Linked DNA regions of Homo sapiens: regions 1, 2, 4, 5 and 6 are each linked to region 3. The links are contacts of gene promoters, found by promoter capture Hi-C in blood cells and fetal thymus (Javierre and others, 2016). All regions are on one chromosome and are shown on one strand. Each heading gives the region's core, a stretch centred on a gene start or on the middle of the fragment in contact. The rest is flanking DNA. Distances are from core to core; before and after follow the strand shown.

What was found. Contacts are between HindIII fragments. The CHiCAGO score rates a contact against its expected background, and 5 or more counts as called.
Region 1: a fragment that was not itself captured here is called in contact with the fragment with the promoter of KLF12 in region 3 in 1 of 17 cell types (non-activated CD4 T cells); the score reaches 5.1 in non-activated CD4 T cells.
Region 2: a contact is called between a fragment that was not itself captured here and the fragment with the promoter of KLF12 in region 3, in 2 of 17 cell types (non-activated CD4 T cells and total CD4 T cells). The highest score is 8.0, in non-activated CD4 T cells.
Region 4: a contact is called between a fragment that was not itself captured here and the fragment with the promoter of KLF12 in region 3, in 1 of 17 cell types (activated CD4 T cells). The highest score is 5.2, in activated CD4 T cells.
Region 5: a fragment that was not itself captured here is called in contact with the fragment with the promoter of KLF12 in region 3 in 1 of 17 cell types (non-activated CD4 T cells); the score reaches 7.5 in non-activated CD4 T cells.
Region 6: a fragment that was not itself captured here is called in contact with the fragment with the promoter of KLF12 in region 3 in 1 of 17 cell types (non-activated CD4 T cells); the score reaches 7.5 in non-activated CD4 T cells.

What each region holds. Positions count from the first base shown.
Region 1 is chr13:73,815,630-73,819,488 of GRCh38, forward strand. The region is part of intron 4 of KLF12 (KLF transcription factor 12); the gene reads right to left. Among named protein-coding and RNA genes, the nearest start is that of LINC00393, 160 kb to the left of the region's middle. The HindIII fragment of the contact is 3,512 bases long and covers 1-3,483 here.
Region 2 is chr13:73,767,624-73,770,950 of GRCh38, forward strand. All of the region lies in intron 5 of KLF12 (KLF transcription factor 12), which reads right to left. Among named protein-coding and RNA genes, the nearest start is that of LINC00393, 110 kb to the left of the region's middle. RefSeq lists an enhancer at 1-497. The HindIII fragment of the contact is 4,662 bases long and covers 1-3,327 here.
Region 3 is chr13:74,132,179-74,135,749 of GRCh38, forward strand. It overlaps KLF12 (KLF transcription factor 12), which reads right to left and starts at 2,226. Exons shown (of 8, transcript NM_001400136.1): 1 at 1,794-2,226. RefSeq lists enhancers at 704-883, 914-963 and a silencer at 1,973-3,571. The HindIII fragment of the contact is 3,671 bases long and covers 1-3,571 here.
Region 4 is chr13:73,720,811-73,724,673 of GRCh38, forward strand. All of the region lies in intron 6 of KLF12 (KLF transcription factor 12), which reads right to left. Among named protein-coding and RNA genes, the nearest start is that of LINC00393, 61 kb to the left of the region's middle. The HindIII fragment of the contact is 1,923 bases long and covers 290-2,212 here.
Region 5 is chr13:73,747,047-73,750,379 of GRCh38, forward strand. The region is part of intron 6 of KLF12 (KLF transcription factor 12); the gene reads right to left. Among named protein-coding and RNA genes, the nearest start is that of LINC00393, 87 kb to the left of the region's middle. The HindIII fragment of the contact is 1,610 bases long and covers 912-2,521 here.
Region 6 is chr13:73,860,211-73,863,691 of GRCh38, forward strand. The region is part of intron 3 of KLF12 (KLF transcription factor 12); the gene reads right to left. Among named protein-coding and RNA genes, the nearest start is that of LINC00393, 200 kb to the left of the region's middle. The HindIII fragment of the contact is 6,362 bases long and covers 1-3,481 here.

The sequences.
Region 1 (3,859 bases), core at 478-2,977, 320 kb before region 3:
GCATACACCTGTAAATGTCAAAAATTTAACATTTAAAGTTGTTGAAACATCATGCACTACGATGCCTTTGCCAAGATACCAAATTTGCAAACAGCCAAGAAAAAAGAAAATATTCTGATAGTACCATTTTGTCCAAGACAACTAGAGCTCTTATAGTAAGTAATACAACTCAAGGAAGATAGAGGCAGTTAACCATGAGCAATCTGGCTCTGAAAGTTAAAGTCTAATTGTATGAAAGATTCCAAAACCTTGTGTGAGAGTTGTTACATGATCATCTAATTATGTTATGTTTGTATCTTAATGAAAGTTTAAAATATGTTAAATATGATATCTTTTTGATGTACTTTTCAGGAGCATAATTGAGGATTTCTTTCCAATATTTTCAATAAATATTATGAAATACATCTGCTACCATCATGCTGGGAAAATCTTTTTACCCATACCTTCAGCCAAGCTGAGGAAGTAATTAGAAAGGCTTTTCAAAATCTGCATTGCTGATTAGGTCAGATGATTAGCTTATCTGCATACTTGCATAATTCCACTCTATTTTTATTAAATGTAGAATAGGGACATCAACCCTAGTTAACCTCCATCAGTCTTTGAGCATCTCAGCCCATTTAGGAAGGACTGATTCTCTGGCATGCCCATTTAAAGACCAAAGAAAGTTATCTGGACACCAGAAACAAAAAAATATCAGCCTCTGTAAGTAAGAGAACAGGAGATGATCTATAAACACCTGAAAAAAATTTACACTTAAGATTTTATTGCTCTTTAATGAAAAAGGGATCAGACAGTTTTGGGTAACCCAGCTCACTGCTGGTAGAGGTGTCATTCCTCGGAGTTGGAGGTGTTCTGGAATCCTACGTGAGTTTCATTCCATGTGTCAAAATCCTGGGGAGAAAATTTCAGAACCCAACACCTGAAGTTGAACTGATATACTCTGATTTTCAAATACTCTCCTATGGTAGATTGTTACTATAACGATCCCTCCAATAAATCATGTCTGTCTGTATCCATGCCCTGATGTGGCCACTTCTCAACAATGACTCTGGGCTTGGCTCTAAGACTTGAAGTGACCAATGGGACATTAGCAAATGTGACACAAGTAGAGGCTTGAAAAGCACTTGCACCTTGGGTTTCCCCTTTTCCCTTGCTCTTTTTAGAACCTAGTCAACTTGTGAAGAAGCCCGGGAGAGCCTATAGGAGACATGCTGCTCAGCAGGCGGCCAATCCCACTGTGAGCCATGTCAGTGAGCCATTTTAGACTCACCAGCTACATTACAGTCACCAGATGACTACACCATGAGTGACCCCAGGTGAGACCTGCTTGAAAACCTCTTGGCTAAACCCATGCCACATTTCTGACTCACAGAATTTGAGCAAATAAAATACCTGCTGTTTTAGGCTGGGTGCAGTGGCTCACACCACTGTAATCCCAGCACCTTAGGAGGCTGAGGCAGGAGGACTGCTTGAGCCCAGGAGTTTGAGACCAGCCCAGACAACGTAGTGAGACCCAACCTCTACAAGAAATTTAAAACATCAGCAGAGTGTGGTGGCATATGCCTGTAGTCCCAGCTAGTTGGGAGGCTGAGGTGGGAGGATCACTTGAGCCCAGGAGGTTGAGGCTGCAGTGAGCTACGATCACACCACTGCACTCCAGGCCTGAGCAACAGAGTGAGATCCTGTTTCAAAAAAAAAAGAAAAGAAAAAAAAGAAAAACAAAAAAAAAAAAGAAAGAAAAAGACAAGACTTGCTATTTTATTCCACTAAATTTTAGGGTTAGTTGTAGGGCAGCAATAAAAAGTTAGTGCACCAGGTTATTCTCCCAGCTCCTTCTAGAGATTTCCTAGCAATGATGGAGATGAACTACAACTACAATTACAGTCAGCCTACAACAATATTAAATTGAATTAAGTTTGGCCTAAAGCTGCCTCTATACATGTTTTAAGTTTGGCCTAAAGTTTCTTCTGTACATAGTGAACTGTAACCTAACTTGACGTGGAAACAGACCGTAACCTCCTCTTGCAACAAGTAGCTGAGTTTCGGTCAATCAAAGATGGCCAACTGTTGAAACCAGATTCAATTAAGGCATATGCTGCATTTTAACCAACGGAGCTGTCTCTGTACCTCACTTCCATTTTCTGCATGTCACCTCCTTTTCTTTGGCTATAAATATAATCTGCATATGCCGTAGGGTGAAGCATTCTGAACATTTTTGGTCTAGACTGTTGTCTGATTCTGGAATCAAATTAAAGCCAATTAAGATGTGCAAAATTAGATTTGTTTACTTTTAACAACATTCTTCTTTATTCTCCTCCCAAGAACCAACCTTGTTTTAGTGACATAAAAGCTACCTACTGCATTCTGCATCATTTACTTTTCAATTCAAAATATTCAAATGTATTTACAGGTGTTTTGGCTTTTGCAGTATCTTCTTTGATCCTTCAGTATTGTGCAGCTAAGGTTCTTCTTGGGCCCTAAGGGGCCATTTAGTTATGATGAACAACACTTATTTATTTTTATTTATTTATTTTCAGATGGAGTCTTACTCTGTCACCTAGGCTGGAGCGCAATGGCGCGATCTCGGCTCACTGCAACCTCCGCCTCCCAGATTTAAGTAATTCTCCTGCCTTGGCCTCCCAAGTAGCTGGGATTACAGGCGACAGCCACTGCGCCGGCCGAACACTTTTTCAGCTCTTCTCCTCAGCTGAGACTTGATAGGATGCTCATATGGGTGGGTTCTCACTGGTGTATGGTCACCCAAAGGTATATTTCATGTTTTTTCTCTTCAGCTCACATGAGACATTTAAACTTTGCTTGTTTCCTCCCCTCATGTAATAGTAGACTGACACAGATGCAGGGGACACTAATTCATTCTCACCTCCCCTCACCCCAGCCTGCCTGCTGTCTAAAGACCAAACACTCTTCTAACTTCTGTTGAAGTAAACTTGCCTATGCACCCACTCTTAAGGAAAAGGACATTCTTCTATTTCTATAGGTTGCAATATTAAATGTGTACGACACAACAATCTAAGAACATATATGAAAACTTACAGACTAACATTTCCTAACAGGAATGAATCCCAGAAGCAGATACTGAATCCCTTCACCTCCACGCGCCAGGGCTGGAGAGGAGAGGGCCATACACAGATGGAAGGTGTGAAGTGGCTGCCCAGGCAGGCGCCACAGGGCTGATGGACCTCTTTTCTCCCTCTTTTAGCTACGGACAGGCTCCCTGCTATCTGCAGGTGCCCTAATTGTTCGCCCTGCCAAGGCTGAAACATGTCCCAGTTAGAGAAACCCCGGCTTCCAGGAGAGCTGCTGGTTTATTCTAGAAAGGAGGGCAGAGGGGGAGTGCAGGAACAAAGGGAAAAATGAATGTTTGGGGAGGAATGTTTGGGAAAATTCATAGTATCAGTAGGTAGAAGAATCCTCCTCCAACACATTCTATGCAGAAATTGTTCCAGAAAAGGAGGGTCAGGAAGCTTCTTTAGGATAAAAACATGGCTCTGGCTTCAGGGAACATGGGATGACTTCTGGCCCTGTCATTTGCAACATCTGACCTTGGGCAATGATTTTGCACCGGGAATCTTCAGTTTCTTCTCCTGCTACTGCTGCTCTAAGGAGTAAAGAAGATAATACATGCAAAGCACTTAGTCCTGGCCTGGCTCTTAGTAGTCAATCATCATTCCATTTTACCCTGACAGTAAATTTACTGCTTCTTCACTCATTCCCTTCTATAACACTCCTTCTAAATCTCTCACCATCTCCTGGACTATTCAAATTAGGCAGTTTTCTTTTCACGTGTACCTAAACTGAAAATACCATTACAGAGGCAGAACACATATTGGATAATATA
Region 2 (3,327 bases), core at 818-3,317, 360 kb before region 3:
TTAGGGCCATGTGTACCAACTGTTCTATTTATATACACTTACTCATCTGGAGCAGAGAGCATGTTTATAATTTTACCCAGTGCAGAGCTTAATTTAGCTTTCTTGCTAAGCATATGAGAACTTTTTAGATGACTTAATACAAAAACGGCTCTTTCTTCTTTGGGTATAAGCACCAAAGAACCTGACTCTCAAAACCTTGCATCTTAATGACTGCCATTTATAGTTAATCAAGAGAATACCATCACTCTGGTTTTCAATGTTTTCATAAACCTACCTGAGTGGCACCCCCTGGTGACTGGAGGTGGGATGCAACATCTTGATTCCCAACACAAATCATCAGCACTCATGAATTGCTGGGGGAAGGATACTGGTCCCACTTTACTATCTGCACCACAGAAAAGCTGTGATAACTTAATGCAATCTTATCATCCCAAATGGAATTAGGATGAAGTGGTTAAGAGTGAAAATTGTGTGACCAGCCTGCCTGACTGAATCCCAGCTTCACCGTTTACCAACGGTGTCATCTTTGGGCAAGTTATTTAACCTCTCTGTGCCTCAGTTTCCTCATCAGGGCAAATGGAGGTAATAATGGGGCCTATTACCTAGGGCTGCGAGGTTTAAATCAGTTAACAGCTATAAAATCTTTAGAATGGTGCTCAGTACTTAGGAAGCAGTCAATACATGTTAGCTATTGTCACTAGCAGTGCTGATTAGACATGAAAGGATGGGAAGTCAGAGGATAGAGCTGGACTATCCAGGTAATTCCAGGGGATTAAGATTACAAATATGCTCTACAGAGCCTGCAGTCTTACCTACTGTGCTTATACAACTTTACTAAAGGCGAGAAAACAAACCAAGAAATAAACATGGGCAGAATAATACAAACCAAAAACTATGGCTTATAAGGTATGGCTTACTCTCAGGCAGCTCATTTTTTTCTGCTCTTTATTAGAAGACCTATCTTCTGTGTACTAAACTGCACAGTATTTAAGTTATGACCCATTCAAGAACAAGACAGTAATCACGGCAATGCAAATTTGCACCCATTTACAGAGCCCTTACTATTTGCTTGGTATCATGCTAAATAATTAAGACATATTATCTTAATTTATCCTCATGTCATTACTGTCCACATTTTATCTTTGAGAAAATAGGCTTAGAAGATTAGGTAACTTGCTGGGGTCACGTAGGTAGTAAAGAGAAAAGTCAGGATTTAAACACAGGTACGTCTGACCTGTCTGACCTGTCTTACATCATGGATGATATAAGATTATCATCTGATACTTATATATATTCCCTCCACCCAGCCCAGAGGATGTAATAAGATGAATTAGCACCAGGGTCTTAAATAGGAAATTTTCCATGTATTTAAGCCCAATTGAACATTTTATAATATAAGTAGATATAAAGTGGAAGTAATGGTTTTCTTGGACTAAATATGAAGCATGTGGGTACTTATAAGAAGCACAGTCATAATAATATACTTTATCTCTTTAATTGTTTATGAATGTTCCTTGTTATATTAGCATTGCTATTTAAATACATAATGTACAACACATGTAAATTTTAGAGGGCAGAAATTAATTCTAGCTATAGCCATGCTTCCTCACATTCCATTTTCTCTAGAATCCAATGTAGTTGGTATCCACACCGCTCTGATGAAACTGCCCTCATCACAGCCATCAATAGTCTCCATGTTTTCAAATCTAATGGTGAATTCTTAGTCCTCAACTTCTCAGCAGCAACTGACATAAATTATCACTCCATTCTTGAACAGCTTCTTTACTCAGCAGCCAAGACATTCTTCTGGCTTTCCTCCTTTCTTTCTCCTTTGCTTGAACCTCCTCCTCTCATTCTTTCAAACTCTAAATGTTGGCATGGGCTAGTTGTCACTGTCCTATAACCTTTCCTCTCCACTATTTAAACTCACTCTGTAGCTAAAAGAGGCTCCAACTGAGCTACCATCATGACCTTCCCATCCACATCATCACGACTCCCAAATGTCTACCTCCAGCCTTAGATCTTCTCTGAAAACCAGACCCAGGTTTCTTAATATCAACCTTTCTCTGAAAGAAACAAACAAAAAAAAAGATGTTCCTTCTGGTATCTTCTCAATTTCAAAAATGTTGGAATTATTCACTCAGTTGCTCAGGCCAAAAACCCTTAGAATAACATGTGAGTCCACTTGTGCTCACACCCCATAAATTAGAGAGGCTGTTTCATACTGAGAAGAATGAGAATAAATGATTATTCCACAGACCAATGAAATCTTTCTTGTAGGACATTACTCATCTAGCAAGACTAGATATTTTATACCAAGATTATAAGAAATTATTATGTACAAATACGTTCTTTTTCTAAAACCATTTAGGTTATATAATCATTAACCTATATTTTAATTAGGTTAATGATTAAATGATTATCTATACATTGTGCAAAGCATTAAACATAATACATACTTTAACAACTCAGTTTACTACATTTGCTGAAGAAAAGATTAACCTAAAATAACTCCACAATTACTAAATATCAGAATTTTCCTATGCAGAATTATATAAAAGATAATTTAAAAATAATTCTTGGTATTGCTTTCTTCTTACACTCGGTTGTACTGAATACAAGTTCTCCTGATGATTTAGGTTACTCTAGATGTTATTTTAATATAAACACACTACCCATGACCAAATAAAAATATGAGTGTGACCAGTGTTTAAATTCAGTGGGCCTATTTTATTCTCAGGTTTTCCTCAGGCCAGTGATTAAATGACTATTAGAAATGCCATATATTTTTAAAAGGTTCTCCATCTGCCTTTATACTAAAATTTCTCTCATGAAAAGCCATTTATGTTACTTTTAGAAAAGTGGGCTGAACTTAAATATTATATACAATTAATATGTGAACTTTTTTTTTTTTTTTGAGATGGAGTCTTCCTCTGTCACCCAGGCTGGAGTGCAGTGGTGCCATCTTGGCTCACTGAAACCTCTGCCTCCCTGGCTCAAGCAATTCTCCTGCCTCAGCCTCCTGAGTAGCTGGGATTACAGGCATGCGCCACCTGTAATGGCTAATTTTTGTATTTTTAGTAGAGATGGCGTTTCACCATGTTGGCCAGGATGGTCTCCAACTCCTGAACTCAAATGATCCTCCTGCCTCAGCCTCCCAAAGTGCTGGGATTACAGGCGTGAACCACCATGCCCAGCCAATATGTGAAATTTTTTTTAACTGCTTACTATAACTCTTATTCTAATGTCATAGACACTGAAAGAGAGAAGTTAAACTGTGCTAAAAATATTACATTTTGAAGGAAACATTAATTTCTGATATACACC
Region 3 (3,571 bases), core at 976-3,475:
TAGAAGACGGTATACACCCACTCCTCAAAGTGACCACTCCTATTCCCATCACAAGCTGCTTCTTGCTAAAAGCCACCAAATTTATTTCAAAGCATTTACTTATCTAAACAACTCTATCGTCCAGTAAGAAAAGGGCATGGAGGCGTCTAGGTGGTTTTGCAGAATGACGTGTATTTGATTGGCAGATGTCTACCGAAGTCACTAGATGCACACGCACTAAATGTAAATAGAGTTGCTCGTCTCTCCGATGTTACAGGGAAACAGAGAATCTTAACGCTGGTGTAAAATAAAATATCAGAGTGCTCGCCGAGAATTCCATTAGCCAGTGGAATTATCTAAAACAATCCATACAGAACGACACTTTAGCCATCTATACAGTTAAATTAGAGTGCTGACAATACTAACTACGCAAACTGTTTATCCAGATTACACATTCCGTTGTATTAATACTCTTTAACTCAACACAGTCAGCTTTTATCAGCTGAAATAAGACTATTACTATTAAAGTATGCAAAACTCGAAGCGCAGGGTGAAGGGGGTTGGGAAGCTGCAGGGCATATAACAAAGGAATTGGTACTTTTTCCAAGCATTTGCCTCAAATGCACTGCGAAACAAAACTGTTGAGTGCACCCCACCCTTTTCCCCAAAGATAAAAGTTTTCAAAGTTCTTGCAGACAGCTCGCTACCCAACAAAAGCAGGACTGATTCTCCCCGTAGGGGAGCATCTAACGTGAACACCAACTAATGTCGCGGAGGTCAAGTCTGAACCCTCAGAGTGAGCTTCTGAGGCAAGAAGTGGCTCCCAGGCCGGCTCTGCGGGTTCCCGGCCCGGGTGGACGTACAAAGTTGCCCCTTGTCAACTCCGGCCAGGTCCCCCGTAATTGAAAATAACAGCCACCGGCCAGCCCCTGGCTACTTGCATGGACCAGGCACTGTAGCAAGTGACAGTTACACATCATTACGACCAGAGACAATAATGAATGTAGCACCAGGAGCACTATTCATGCCAGCAGTGTCATCTCCGCCTTAACCCCTTCCCCTCCACTCTCTCCAGCGCGCACACACAGCCCACACGGTCCCGGTGCGGAGCTATTCATCCACCCCGCTCGAGGCCGGGGGGCCAACTACTTCCACGAGCCCCCCCTCCCCCCCAAGTTCAGCCCTGGGGTTTTATTTCACATCCTTGGCAACTGTCAGGCAAACACTGCAACCAACAATTCCACTAGGGGTAGAAAAACACTTGCTTAATTCACGTTACTTGATAACTTCTTCTGGAAAAAAAAAATTAGGGGAGGTGGGGAAGAAACCTCCTTCTTTCTTCTCCACGAATCCGACCGACGCTACTTGCTTTGCAACAGCATCGCCCTTCCCCGGCCCCCTCCCGCTTCCCAGCACTTTCCCCCTTTAAGAACACAGACCAACCAAAATGATTTAACTTGAGCAGATGACAGAAGGAAAATAAAACACGTTAAGAGAATACGGTCTGATTTGGGATGGCAAAAAAAAAAAAAAAAGAGGAGGGGGTTGTTTATTTTGATAAGAAACGGAATCGGCACAGACCTGAACAGAAGCTGCAGAGCAGGAGAAATTGTTTTCTTTCCCTCACACAGAGTCCCCCTCTCTCTCTCCCTTTCTCTCTCTCACACGCGCGCGCGCACACACACACACACACTCGCACACACACGGCGTCACCCGCGCACACGCACACGCAGAGCCTCTCAGCGGCTCTCTGCAGTTCTCAGGAAATGAATGGGGGGCAACCCGGGGAACTGTTGTACTTGCAAATGACTTACCCGGATCACATGATGCGCTAAATGTAGGGTGGGCCGGTGGGTGGAGGCTGCCGAGTTGCGAGCCCCGGTCTAGTGTGGGGAGCCTCGCCAGGCCCGCATCGAATTACCCCGGGGCCCAGCCGAGGGGGTTGCAGGACGCCGCTTCTCCTCCCTCGCAGCCCGCAGCTCAGGAAACCGGAGAGGCGCTTGGGGTGGGGTGGGGTGGGGTGCTGTGAGGGGGGGGGCCGAAAACAAGAAACCCCCAAACAAAAGAGCTCCGGGTCCTCCTCCCCAGAAACAAAGCCCCGCCGCTGCCGGCGAGCCCCGGGGTGGGGCCGAGGGCGGGGGCGGCGGCGGGGAGGGGCTCGCTCAGCAGGCGCTAAGTCGCTTTATTGCCATAAAATGGGGCCCCCGAGCCGCTCCGCCCGAGGATTAGGAGGCGGGCTCTGAGTGTGATGGTTGAAATCCCCTGTGGGAAACTAACCCCTCCCCGCTCGCAGAGGTAGAAGGCAACACCCACTGCCCGGCCCTCGCCTCCCCGCCCGGACCGCCGGGCTGGGTCCGCGGCGCCTCCACCCCGCCCCACCCCGCCCCACCCCTGCCCCCGCCCTCCGGCCCCGGGCCTCGGCAGCGCTTCCCTTTCACCTGCACCACTTTGCTGCGGCACCCCAAATAACCCACACATGGCCCTGGGAGCTCGGGGAGTCGTCGGCCGAGGGGGCCCGCGGGGGCTTGCGGCGGGAGGGACCCCTGGAGAGCAACTCGCTGGGCAAGGACTCGCGCCGAGCCGCGAGAAAGTCTCCTCTTTTGTGTCAGAGCGCGCCAGACAGGCTTAGGAGAATTCGGGGACCCAAAAAGCGTGCAGCCCGCTTGGGCCCCCACCCCTCGCCGCACCCGCCCGGGTGGGGGCGCGCAGTGGAGGGAGGGGGCTGTCGCCCGGGTCGTCCCCGCGGCTCGCCCGCCAGCGAACTTGGAAAGGTGTGGGCGGAGCCGGCCGGGACTGTGGGGCAGCTCGCGGGGACCGCCCCTGGGCGCCGGGCATCGCCCGCGCCGGGCAACAATGGGGTCAGGCAGGGGCAGCCCCGCGGGCGGTGCCCCCCGCGCGCCGGTGGGGCGGGCGGAGGGCCGGGCGCGGCAGGCAGGGGAGTCATTGTTTGGGTTCCGGAGCGACGCACGTTGCGGGCGAAGCGGGGGCGCCCCTTTTCCCTGCGCTTCACCTTGGCGGGATGAATGGGGGCGAGGCGGAGATGCGCGCCTGGCCTCGCCACCCCAGCGAAGGGGCCCCTGCCTGCGCCAGTTCTGTGGGAAAGCACGCAAACTTGGAGGACTGGGGCAGAGGAAGCGGGATCTGCAGACCCCCGCGGGGCCCGGGGGCGGCGGGGAAGGGAGTCCAGCTCCACTGCCCCACGCCCAGAGCGGAGCCCCAAGAAGCGGACGGCCCGGAGCCGAGTCCTTGACGCTCTCCCCGGCAGCCCCTCCCTCCCCGCCTCCGCGCCCCGGGGAGCGGATCCGCGGGATTGTGGGGCGGGAGAGGGAGGAGGCGGCCGGGCGGCCCTGCAGTTCCCGCGGCGGCTCGGAGGGCGCGGGGTCAGCGCCGAGCCGGAGGGTCGGCGGGGGCGGGGAGCAGACGGGGCGGAAGCGGCCGGGCGGGCGGGGCGCGCGGCGGACGGAGGCGGGAGGCTGTGGGCCCGCCTCCTCACCATCCTAGGTGAGCGCGGCGCTCCGGGCACGACAGTATTCCCCTGCCCCGCGCCCCCGGCCCGGCCCGCCCCGCGTGGGAAATCGCCAGGGCTGTGGGA
Region 4 (3,863 bases), core at 1-2,500, 410 kb before region 3:
AAAAGACCACTCGTCATGTGTGACCTTAGCATGATGAGATGTCCTTCACTGAAACTGGAGTTTTTACAGGAGTTAAAAAAAAATTAAAAAGGCCAGGACAATCTTTCAAGCCTGGAAAGAAGACATACACATCCCAGATTTAAAAACCAGAGCAGAAAACACTGGAATTGAAGGAGCTTTAGTAAATTCACACACGCAATCACAACAGAATTCCAAGGGCCACAGCTGAGGATAACAATGATATTTACAGAATGCTTAGTGGGTGTCAGGCACCGACCTAAATGCCTTAAGCTTCAGAGCAACCCTCTGAGATTGACACTACTATCCCTGTACACTGTATCCCTCTTTTACAGATGAGGAAACTGAGGCACAGAGAGGTTAAGGCCAAGGCCAAGACAAAGTCTGCGGCTACACTAAAACTCAGACCTGAGTGGTTGATTCCAGAACTCAATTTTAATTACAATGTTATGCTTATTCAGATGAAGATACAGGTATTACAAACCAACATATGATAGAAGGGGAAAAAGCAACAAAATATCTATAGCATTTAAATTTCCCCTTTAACCCAATTATATAAAACAACAGCACACATAAGTGTTATTGAATATAGCCTGCAACGATAAGACATATACTTTTCTCTGGAGAATTTTAAAAAGGTAAACCGTTCTGTAAGTACTGTCAGATGGGCATTCAGTACACTTACTATTAATCTACCAAAGAAAGTATTTTCTTTTCTCTCCTTTCATCTTGTTTTTAAAAAGAGACAAGAACTCATTCTGTTGCCCAAGCTGCAGTGCAGTGGTAGAATCATAGCTCACCGGAGCCTCAAACTCCTGGACTCAAACAATCCTTCCGCCTCAGCCTCCTGGGAACTAGGACTACAGGTGCATGCCACCATGCCTAGTTAATTTTTTTTTTTTTTGGTAGAGAAAGGGTCTTGCTGTGTTGTCCTAGCCTGTCTTGAACTCCTGGCCTCAAGTGATCCTCCCACTTCGGCGTCCCAGTGTTGGGATTATAGGTATGAGACACTATGCCTACCCAGTACATATTTTCTTAAAGTTGTTATAAACTATGTATTTCCAAGGGAAATGTTTTTTAAAGGCTGAGTTTGGCAGTGGTATATGCTAATGTCTTCCTTGACCATTAATGCCACAAAATTAGTCCCTTCCCTGACATTCCACTTTATTTACAATTGTACCAAAAAGAATTGAGTTGGTTGCACGATAGAATTACCTTAAGGGAAGTGGGAGCATTCAGTTTACAAAGTATATTTTGTACTGTTTCTAAGGTTTCATATTATTTAAAATAAGACATTGAACATCACCTACAGAATTCTGAATTAACTTCTGCCACAGAATACCTGTAGGTAGAATGACTTCTTTGTTAGTGAATCAAACACCACCCTGGGAATGAATCATCAAGACCACAAGCAGAGCAAGAGTGGATGAGACTTTCAGTTAATCAGGATTTACATAAATCTCAGTAAGACAGATTCTATTCACATGAACAAGCCAGATATCTGCATTTCTTTGTAGGCTTTCCCTTAACCAGCAGATGGCTCTCAGAGGCAGGAATCTTCATATTTATCTTCCATACTACAACAGACTCTAGTGCCTGTCAAACCATGTCAATGTCTCTCCTATGATATTAATTAGGGAAAAAGCAGTGTTTAGATACATTTACTACCAAATCCCCAGCAGCTACATTCGGAGGTGGAGCAGATTCACAGGCATCAAGTTCCTCTCTCACTCCTGTCTGTAGCATTTCACAGAAAACTACTTTTGAACAGATTGAAATTGTAAGATTAGTAGTTGCCACCCTTTTCAGAAGCTGTGACTGAGACATTATATCATGTTCTAATTTGGATTCAATAAAAACGTTTTCACAAAATGTATAAATCAAGAGAAATACGTTTGCTAAAATGCGTCAAAAAGCTCAATCTTAACATCTATTCAAACTAGCGTTTGGCAAGTTTTCCATATGAACAGAATGCGTCTAAAATGCATATTTAATTATTGTTTTACTTTAATAAACAAAGTTTCCTACTAAACTAATTAAAAGATAATGGTTTACAAATGAGCCTTTTGGGCGCCCAAGGGGTGCCCTGGGGATGGATTCACAGTATTTCATGATTTTACTTAAATATAACAGCAGCCACTAAGTATTTTTCCACATCACTTTCTAGACCGTTAAAAAACTTAAAAGTATGACAAGCTTTCTGTTCTTTTTGTTTCAACATATTTCAGCAAGCAAGATCATAAGCTGTATTAGGCAAAATGTTTAAAGAGAATCAAAATAGAAAAAAACGAATCATTAACAGTCTGTTCTGGTTGGCTATATTATCAAACTTTTATGATGAAATTAGACTACAAGTTGAAAGAGGATTGTTGGCTAACAAAAAAATGCCTATTTCAGATATAGAGTATCTATTCAAAATAGCTACTCTGTGGGGAATGTCCTATGCATTGCGAAGACTTTATCCCATGAGATCAATTAATAATGTAGGATGAAACGAGGGTTCTGAAACAGGTATGGATTTCTGGATTATACTAGACATACCCACTGAATGGAAGACACATAACATACTTAAATATTTAGAGGGATTTTCCCACAGAATTTCTTCAGAAAATACCGGGGTTTAAATTATGTTTTATGCCAGAAGTGATAGCTTGGTGGATTACATAAACCTTAAAAAAAAAAACTTTCTAGGTCAGAATAGGATTAATTATTTTAATCGGAATGCCTTAAGGGTAAGCCCTGCCCTCCTCATTCTGGCATGGGCCCAACCCATGCCCTATTGCTTTATGAGAACAGCACTTTATCTTATCCATGTGGCTCTTGAACACATCTGATTTGGGGACTCTCTAGAATCATGCTAAATTTTAAAAATAAGTTATCCTTATTTGACTACAGTTAAACTTTAAGCTACTCAAGAGTGAAGAGTCTTATACATGTCTATTTATGTGACCGACAAACATGAAAAAAAGCTCATCATCACTGGTCATTAGAGAAATGCAAATCAAAACCACAATTAGATACCATCTCATGCCAGTTGGAATGGCGATCATTAAAAAGTCAGGAAACAGATGCTGGAGAGGATGCGGAGAAATAGGAACACTACACTGTTGGTGGGAGTGCAAATTAGTTCAACCATCGGGGAAGACAGTGTGGTGATTACTCAAGGATCTAGAACCAGAACTACCATTTGACCCAGCAATACCATTTCTGGGTATATACCCAAAGGATTATAAATCATTCTACTATAAAGACACATGCACACGTTATGTTTACTGCAGCTCTATTTACAATAGCAGAGACTTGGAACCAACCCAAATGCCCACCAATGATAGACTGGAAAAAGAAAATGTGGCACATATACACCATGGAATACTATGCAGCCATAAAAAAATGAGTTAATGTCCTTTGCAGGGACATGGGTGAAGCTATAAACCATCATTCTCAGCAAACTAACACAGGAACAGAAAACTGAACACTGCATGTTCTCAGTCATAAGTGGGAGTTGAACAATGAGAACACATAGACACAGGGAGGGGAACATCACACCTGGGGCCTGATGTAGTACTTAAGTTAACATGAATTATTGAAAGTTTTTATTGCTTGGGTAGGATTATATAAATCAGACCAAGTAGAACTCATTGGTAGTTTTCCACTTGAGTCTGTGTTACCAGAATGACTGTCTGAGGCCACATGTAGGGATTTTTCTCATCATAAGATGTCCAGGTATTTGAATTCTGGAGGAAAAGAAAAATCTTCCCACCTGAGACAGATAATATTTTACCCGCTTTTGATTTTGTTCCTGAAAATTTTCCTTACTCTTTGAATACTCTGTGAAATTAACACTG
Region 5 (3,333 bases), core at 467-2,966, 390 kb before region 3:
CCTCAAGTGATCCACCTGCCTCAGCCTCCTAAAGTATTGGGATTACAGGTATGAGCCACTACTCCTGGCATTTTCTTTCTTTCTTCCTTCAAATATTTACTGAGTGTCTACTATGGGCCAGACCTTATGGTAGGTGCTGGAGACTTATAGTCTAAGAGAGGCACACATACTTCCTTACATGCACACAATTGAGGGCCATGACAAAAAGACATGGCAGGGATCCAGAGGAGGAATGAAGAACCCAGGCTGCCATCAGCAAAGAGGTGAGTGTTTTAGCTACGGAGAAGGCTGTTATCAAGGGAGAATATGCAAAAGGAAATGAAACTTTGAAGAACATGAACATTTAAAGGGTAGGTAAAGGAAAAGGACTGAATGAGAAGGACGCAGTAGATATGTCAAGGTTAGCTTAGTTATATCATATTGGGGAATTGAGTTAACCTAGCTCTCAAATTGTATTATCTATTAAAGGGTCAAAGTACATTTTAGCTAGTAGATTACATAATTAATGTTAGCTATGTATTAGTCATGGCTGTACATAAATGAGTCTTGCATCCCCTTGTAATAATAGTCAACACTTATTTATTGCGTTTGGTAAATACTGTCCTTTGAGCTTTATATGTAATATAGTGCATTTAATCCTCATGATAACCATGAAACAGGTATTATTAGCAAGCCCCATTTTACAGATTAGGAACCAGAGACTCAGAGATATAAAATAACTTGCTCGAAGTTACAGAGTTAATATATAGTAACTGAAATATGAAAATAGGCAGTCTGATTTATTGATCCCTACTCTATTCTTTCTCTTTTCATTTTAAAGATTAAAATAAAACTGTTTTTCAAGACATGTCACAGAATGGGTCTGAGAAATAAATAAAATGGTATCTATGAACTGTGTGAAAACTGTGAAAAGCTTAAGAATGTAAAATATCATTGAAAGGTGGTTCTAACAAAGTACAATGTCCATTTCTGGTGAAAACTGACTTCATTGTTTCCACTGGAGGGAAGTGTTGAAAACGATGAATTTGTGGAGAATCACTTTGGAGACTCGCCTCTATCACCAGAGGATGAATTATTTACCACCAATATAACCAGGCACACCTGGGAGCAAATTACTGATTCCAGGGCCCATTTGTAATCCCATATCAGATTCCTTTGTCACACAGAAGACAAAGTCGGACTGAAGTGATGTTTAAGTTTTAAGGGAGCTGATATCAGAAGTTGGTATTTTAATAAAAATAATATTATATATGATCCTTGTCTGTCCAGACCTTTAATCTGAATTAACAGTTATGGACTGAATGTCTGTGTCCCCCAAAATTCACACGTTGAAGCCATAATCCTCAATGCAATGGTATCTGGAGATGGGGCCTTTGGGGATTATTTAGATCAGGTCATGAGGGTGGTGGGGCCCTTAGGATGGGATTAGTGTACTTTTATAAGAAGAGGAAGAAAGATCAAAGTTCTCTTCTCTCTCCACTTTTTGAGGACATAGAGAAAAGGTGCACTCTGCTAGCCAGCAAGAAAGCCTTCCCCGGGAACTGAATCACCAGATGGCTTGCTGTTGGACTTCCCAGCCTCCAGAACTGTGAGAAATAGTCCTGTGGTTTTAGCCACACAATCTATGGTATTTTTTTAATGGCAGGCCAAGTTATGCCAAATACATTTAAATTTTAATATGTGGAGCTCTGGGAGATATATTTTTGTTGTATATTACCACAGAGGAAATGATAGTGAAGAGTTTGATGATTTGCTTAACGCCAAAAGCCAACAGCAGGTAGAATTTGAATCTGCATCCTTTGATTCCAAAGCTGTGCTCTTTCCATTGAGTTGTTTGGACTCCTGTTCTTTATATTTATTCACCCCATGTCAGTTTTAAAGGCCTTGGAAAAGTTACTAGAGAATAAAAGCCTATACATTCAGTACTTCAGAGGCCACATCTCCCTCTGTGGCCAATTAACACTCGATTTACTTTGATGGTCATTTCCTATAGAGTACCTATGTTCAGTTTTTTATCATTAGAAGGCCCTTTTCAGTGTGTGTTCTAAGACCACGGGCCCTCAGCTTGCTACAATCCTAGGGGAGGCCCAGCTTCTCAGCCCTCAGAAAGATAAATGGTTTACCTCTTTATACCAACATGGATTGACACTTTGCACAATGCCACTTAAAATTCAGTACCTGCTGATTCAGCTAAGAGATTAAAAAGAAAAAAAGATATTTATTCTTTGTTCATATGAAAATGTCGTATGCATTAATCCCATTAAACAACAGAGCCTGCATTTAAATCTCATTCTAAATCCTATTTCCAGAGTTTTAATGTTTGAAGGTGTTTGTGTCTTCAAAGGTGTGACAATTAAAACTAAAAGACTGATCTTCAAATTCATTAACATACACAAGAGACAAAAAGCCAACAAATTAGCACAGCCAAAGGAAAAAGATTTTTAAAAAAATAGCCACACAAAGCCCATCCAGGGGGTGATGCTTTTTTATTGGACTAATTGCAAGGAAATATAAAAGGGTAAGCTTTTACTAATCAAGCTCTTTTCACTCAGCCATGAAGAACTGCTAGGCAGAGCAAGCAAAGAGACAGGGTGTTAATGTAAGCCTGATAATTAAATTCAGGATCAAGTGGATCAGAGGGAAGGCCAAAAACGTAAAAATCAGGTGGAGGTAAGAATTAGAATCCCAATCTTTTATAATACTATATGGATTGTCGAAAGAAGAAGAGAAAGGAAACTTATGAAAGTTGGTTTTTTCTTTCTAAAGCATGAATAAAAGTGGTTATATTTAAAAGAAAAGTGAACAGTGACAATACTGCAGAGGTATTTTGTAGCATCCTGCCTTCTGTGACATAAAGCTCTTTCCTACATACTCATCTCCATTTATTTTCACATAATCCCTGTGGAAAGAAACAGGCAAGATCAGGCATAAGGGACTCAATCTTGCCCCAGATCACATAATTAGAGAGTGACAGAACAGGTCTAAAATCTTAGCTTCTGAAATTCAGGTCAGTAGTCACCATTATTCTTCAAACATTTTGTCAGGCATAACAACGATAAACAGAGAAAGGGCAGAAATGATGTAACCAATGTTTAAAGATGTCTGTAATGTGAAAATATGTCTTGCTATCCTCTGAATTTGAGTATTTCTACTTTTCTGAAAATATTGACTAAGGAATGGGAAACAGCCATCAAAATGTGGAAAGGGAACCACCAAAGTCAGGCGGCAGAAGTTCTAAGTTCTAATCCTAGCTCCTGTGCAAATTTGGACAAAATCATTCAAACTCCGGGCTTCAGTTTTCCTACCAATAGATGAGGATAGTGGAAGAGATGT
Region 6 (3,481 bases), core at 308-2,807, 270 kb before region 3:
GATTCCACCTGTTCTAAATTAGATGCCACTCTTCTGTGCTTCCAAAGCACTCTGAACTTTGTGCTTCTTTCTCTTACGAGGCGGCCATGGGCCCACCAAAGATATCATTTTTATCTTGTTCTTTTGTAGACAAGCACCTATCACAGTCCCCAGTACAAAGTAAGCACTTAATTAAAGCTCATTAGTAAAGCTCCAGTTGCTCCCCAAAGGCCTTACTGGGTCTCAGATTGAATATATCTACGGGCCACATGCAGTGGCTCACGCTTGTAATCACAGCACTTTAGGAGGCCGAGACCGAAGGGTTGCTCGAGCTCAGGAGTTTGAGACCAGCCTGGGCAACACAGAGAGACCTTGTCTCTACTAAAAATAAAAAATAAAAATAAATAAGCTGGGTGTGGTGGTGCACACCTGTAGTCTTAGCCATGCCAAAGACTGAGGAAGAAGGATCACTTGAGCCCAGAAAATCGAGGCTGCACTGAGCTATGATTGCATCACTGCATTCCAGCCTGGGCGACAGAGTGAAAAAAAATCTATGAATTAATTACCCCGTGACTAAAACTTAAACGGTAAATATATTAACTTATTATAACATATAAAAATGAAAGTTGAAAGTTTCCAGTGCCTCATTCTTTTGTTAAAGAATTTAAATTTATCAATTGATATTTAATTCCTCCCACTACAGAACTTTAAGTGACTAGTTTCCATGTATTACAAGATGATTTTTACAAGAAGAGATGAAAGACACACTTCCAAGGGGCTAAAAATCAAATGTATGAGTCATATTTTGTATTTTTGCTAATTTGAAATACATTTTTTATAACTAGAAAATTTATAATTAGCATCTCTCAATATGTCACAGTAATAGGAAGTTAAAAAATAACACTCTTTCTGGTTCCAAAACTTAGTCTTCATGTCTATCAAGTTTTTCAAAGTTAGTTAGGATTCTGCATTTTTTTCTGTCAATCGGGGTGTAATACATGGCATGAAGGTTATAAATCCTGTAACTAGATACAATGATAAATGCATGTACCCCATTCTTGTTAATTTTCCATTCCACAATAAAAAACCCCTGCTAACTCTGATCCTTTCAGTGTGGGGATTACCTGTACCAGCAACCCACAAACTCTGCTGCTGCTTCCTGCGCAGTGAACTCTACAACTGCCTTTCTCCTCCCTTTGGCTTATCTTGCTCTGCTCCTTCATGTTAATTCCATTCTTCTAGAACTTCTGCATTGGCATTCTTATTTGGCATTCTTATTTACACTAAAGGAGTAGTTATTAATGGCAGGTAATGTGTCCCCCAGGGGACACTGAGCAACATCTGAAGACATTTTTGATTGAAGCAGTGACAAGACAGTTCCCATGACAAAGACAAAAGACCAAGAGTGTCGAAGTTTAAAGAAACCCTGGATTAAGCTATCATCTTTTTCCTACTTTTTCCCCTAACATCTTATATATTACTTTTTTTTAATTTGTGGAATTATTCCGTTTTCCTCATTTTTCCTTCTCTAACTCTTCCATATGTGTTAATCATGTAAATATATCTACAGAGTCCAAACATATATACATGCACCTCCGTGGGTATGTGAATACGGCTTAGGTACTGGTATGAATGCTGATGGGCATGTGTGTATTCTTGTGACATCTTAGCATGTAGTGCACTTAAAAGTCATGCAAGGAGTGTGTGTGACAGAATATGTAGAAAAATTAACTTGAAGTGTTTATTACCTATATATACAAATGTGTGTGTCTACGTGTTCCTAGCCCTTCATATTATAAGTATTAATTGAATAGTTTTCATAGATTTGCTTAAGTGTACAAACAGAAGAGTGCAGATATAGTTGGGTTTTTTTTTTTTTTTTGAAAAATCAAAGGGTATTGAGGTTAAGTTAAAAACCTTAACACATAAATGCAGTTGTGATCTCTAAATTCACTAAGCATCTGTCTTTCCAGTAAGGATTCCAGACATCAGCCCATGTGATGCTACTGTTAGCTAAATCTAGGCCCCAAACTTGAATTAGTTTTACAACATGTAAAGGGGAAAAGACATGTCTAAAAATTATAAACCTGCTGCACATACATTACAGTGTATTGTTTATTCCTCACAACATCTCAATATAAAAAACTATCATGAATCACATTTTACAGATAGGAAACAGACGTGGAGAGGTTAAGAAATGTGCCAGTGGTTCTAAGGCATTAAGTGACAATGTCAAGATACAATCTTTAGTGATCTCTGGCAATAAAATCCATGGCCTCAACTATTAATGCAATACTAACTCCCACATCTGAATCTTTAATGTATGCCCACAGCAGATCAGGAAAGACTGAAATCACTGTAATCAATTCTATAAAACATTTGTCTCTTATTTTGTGCAATTTTAAGACGACTATGTTTCGTGAAGAAAAAAGAGTCAAAAGGTTAAGTAAAAACTTTCACAGATTTCAACAACATATCTTAGCAGAATTATTTTTTCCTTTATTGGTTTTCCTTATAAAATCTCTAAGAAAACAACAACTGTACGTTATTCAATTATTTATTACTGAATAAATAAGAAAAAGAAAAGAGTCAGGCACATTAATCACTTCTTTGATCCAAACAGAATTCTGGTTCCCATGAGATAAAGTTACTCTGTGTTTTTGGTTTTAAATAATTCCTGTGATAAAATCCCAAATTAATTATTAAGTAAATTAGCAAACTCACATTATATGATTCATTTTCTTCTTAGCATCAGAACTTTCAGTCACAGTTAAGATAGCCAACATTCAATTATCTACTCATAGACAGGATCACAGTACAAGTAATCCCAAGTGACAGATAATCCAAAAAGGCATTTATGTTGGGTTTAAAATTCATTATATGATTCCAGCAGATTTACCACCATAATTATATTTATTAGACTCATATTAAAATTCATTTGTATTTCTTAAACACATGCCAACTGAGGGAGGATCTCAGAAACATGCTGGATCAAGAAAGGAAGCTGATTTGCTATTAGCAATTTTCCTGTGAATAACTGACAAGAAGTCATGGGGATAGTAAAACTAAATTTCATATTTATTAAGAGTCTTATGTGATAAATTAGAGATTATATTATAGCAGTATTGTAGAGGTGTTACGGCATGGGCTGTGGATTCCAACAGACAGGTTTGTGTACTGGTTCTGCTCTTGTTCCGTGACCATAAGCAAATTTCTTATCCTTCTAAACTTCAGTTATTTACTTACAACAGTGCTAATATTAGCACTCCCTACATATTAAGGGAGTTCTAAAAATCCAATTATTAAATGCACACTGCTTGACACAAAATAGTTAAAATTAGTTGTGGTTGTTATTTTTTGTTTCAGTTATTATTTTATCTATTTTACTGTAGTGCTAAAACTAGAATATCCGATAGTTTGTATTATTCCTGCCTCCCATAAAATGATGCCATCTTTGATTATTCAATAAATTACATAGTATACTGTAGGGTCAAATATTAGA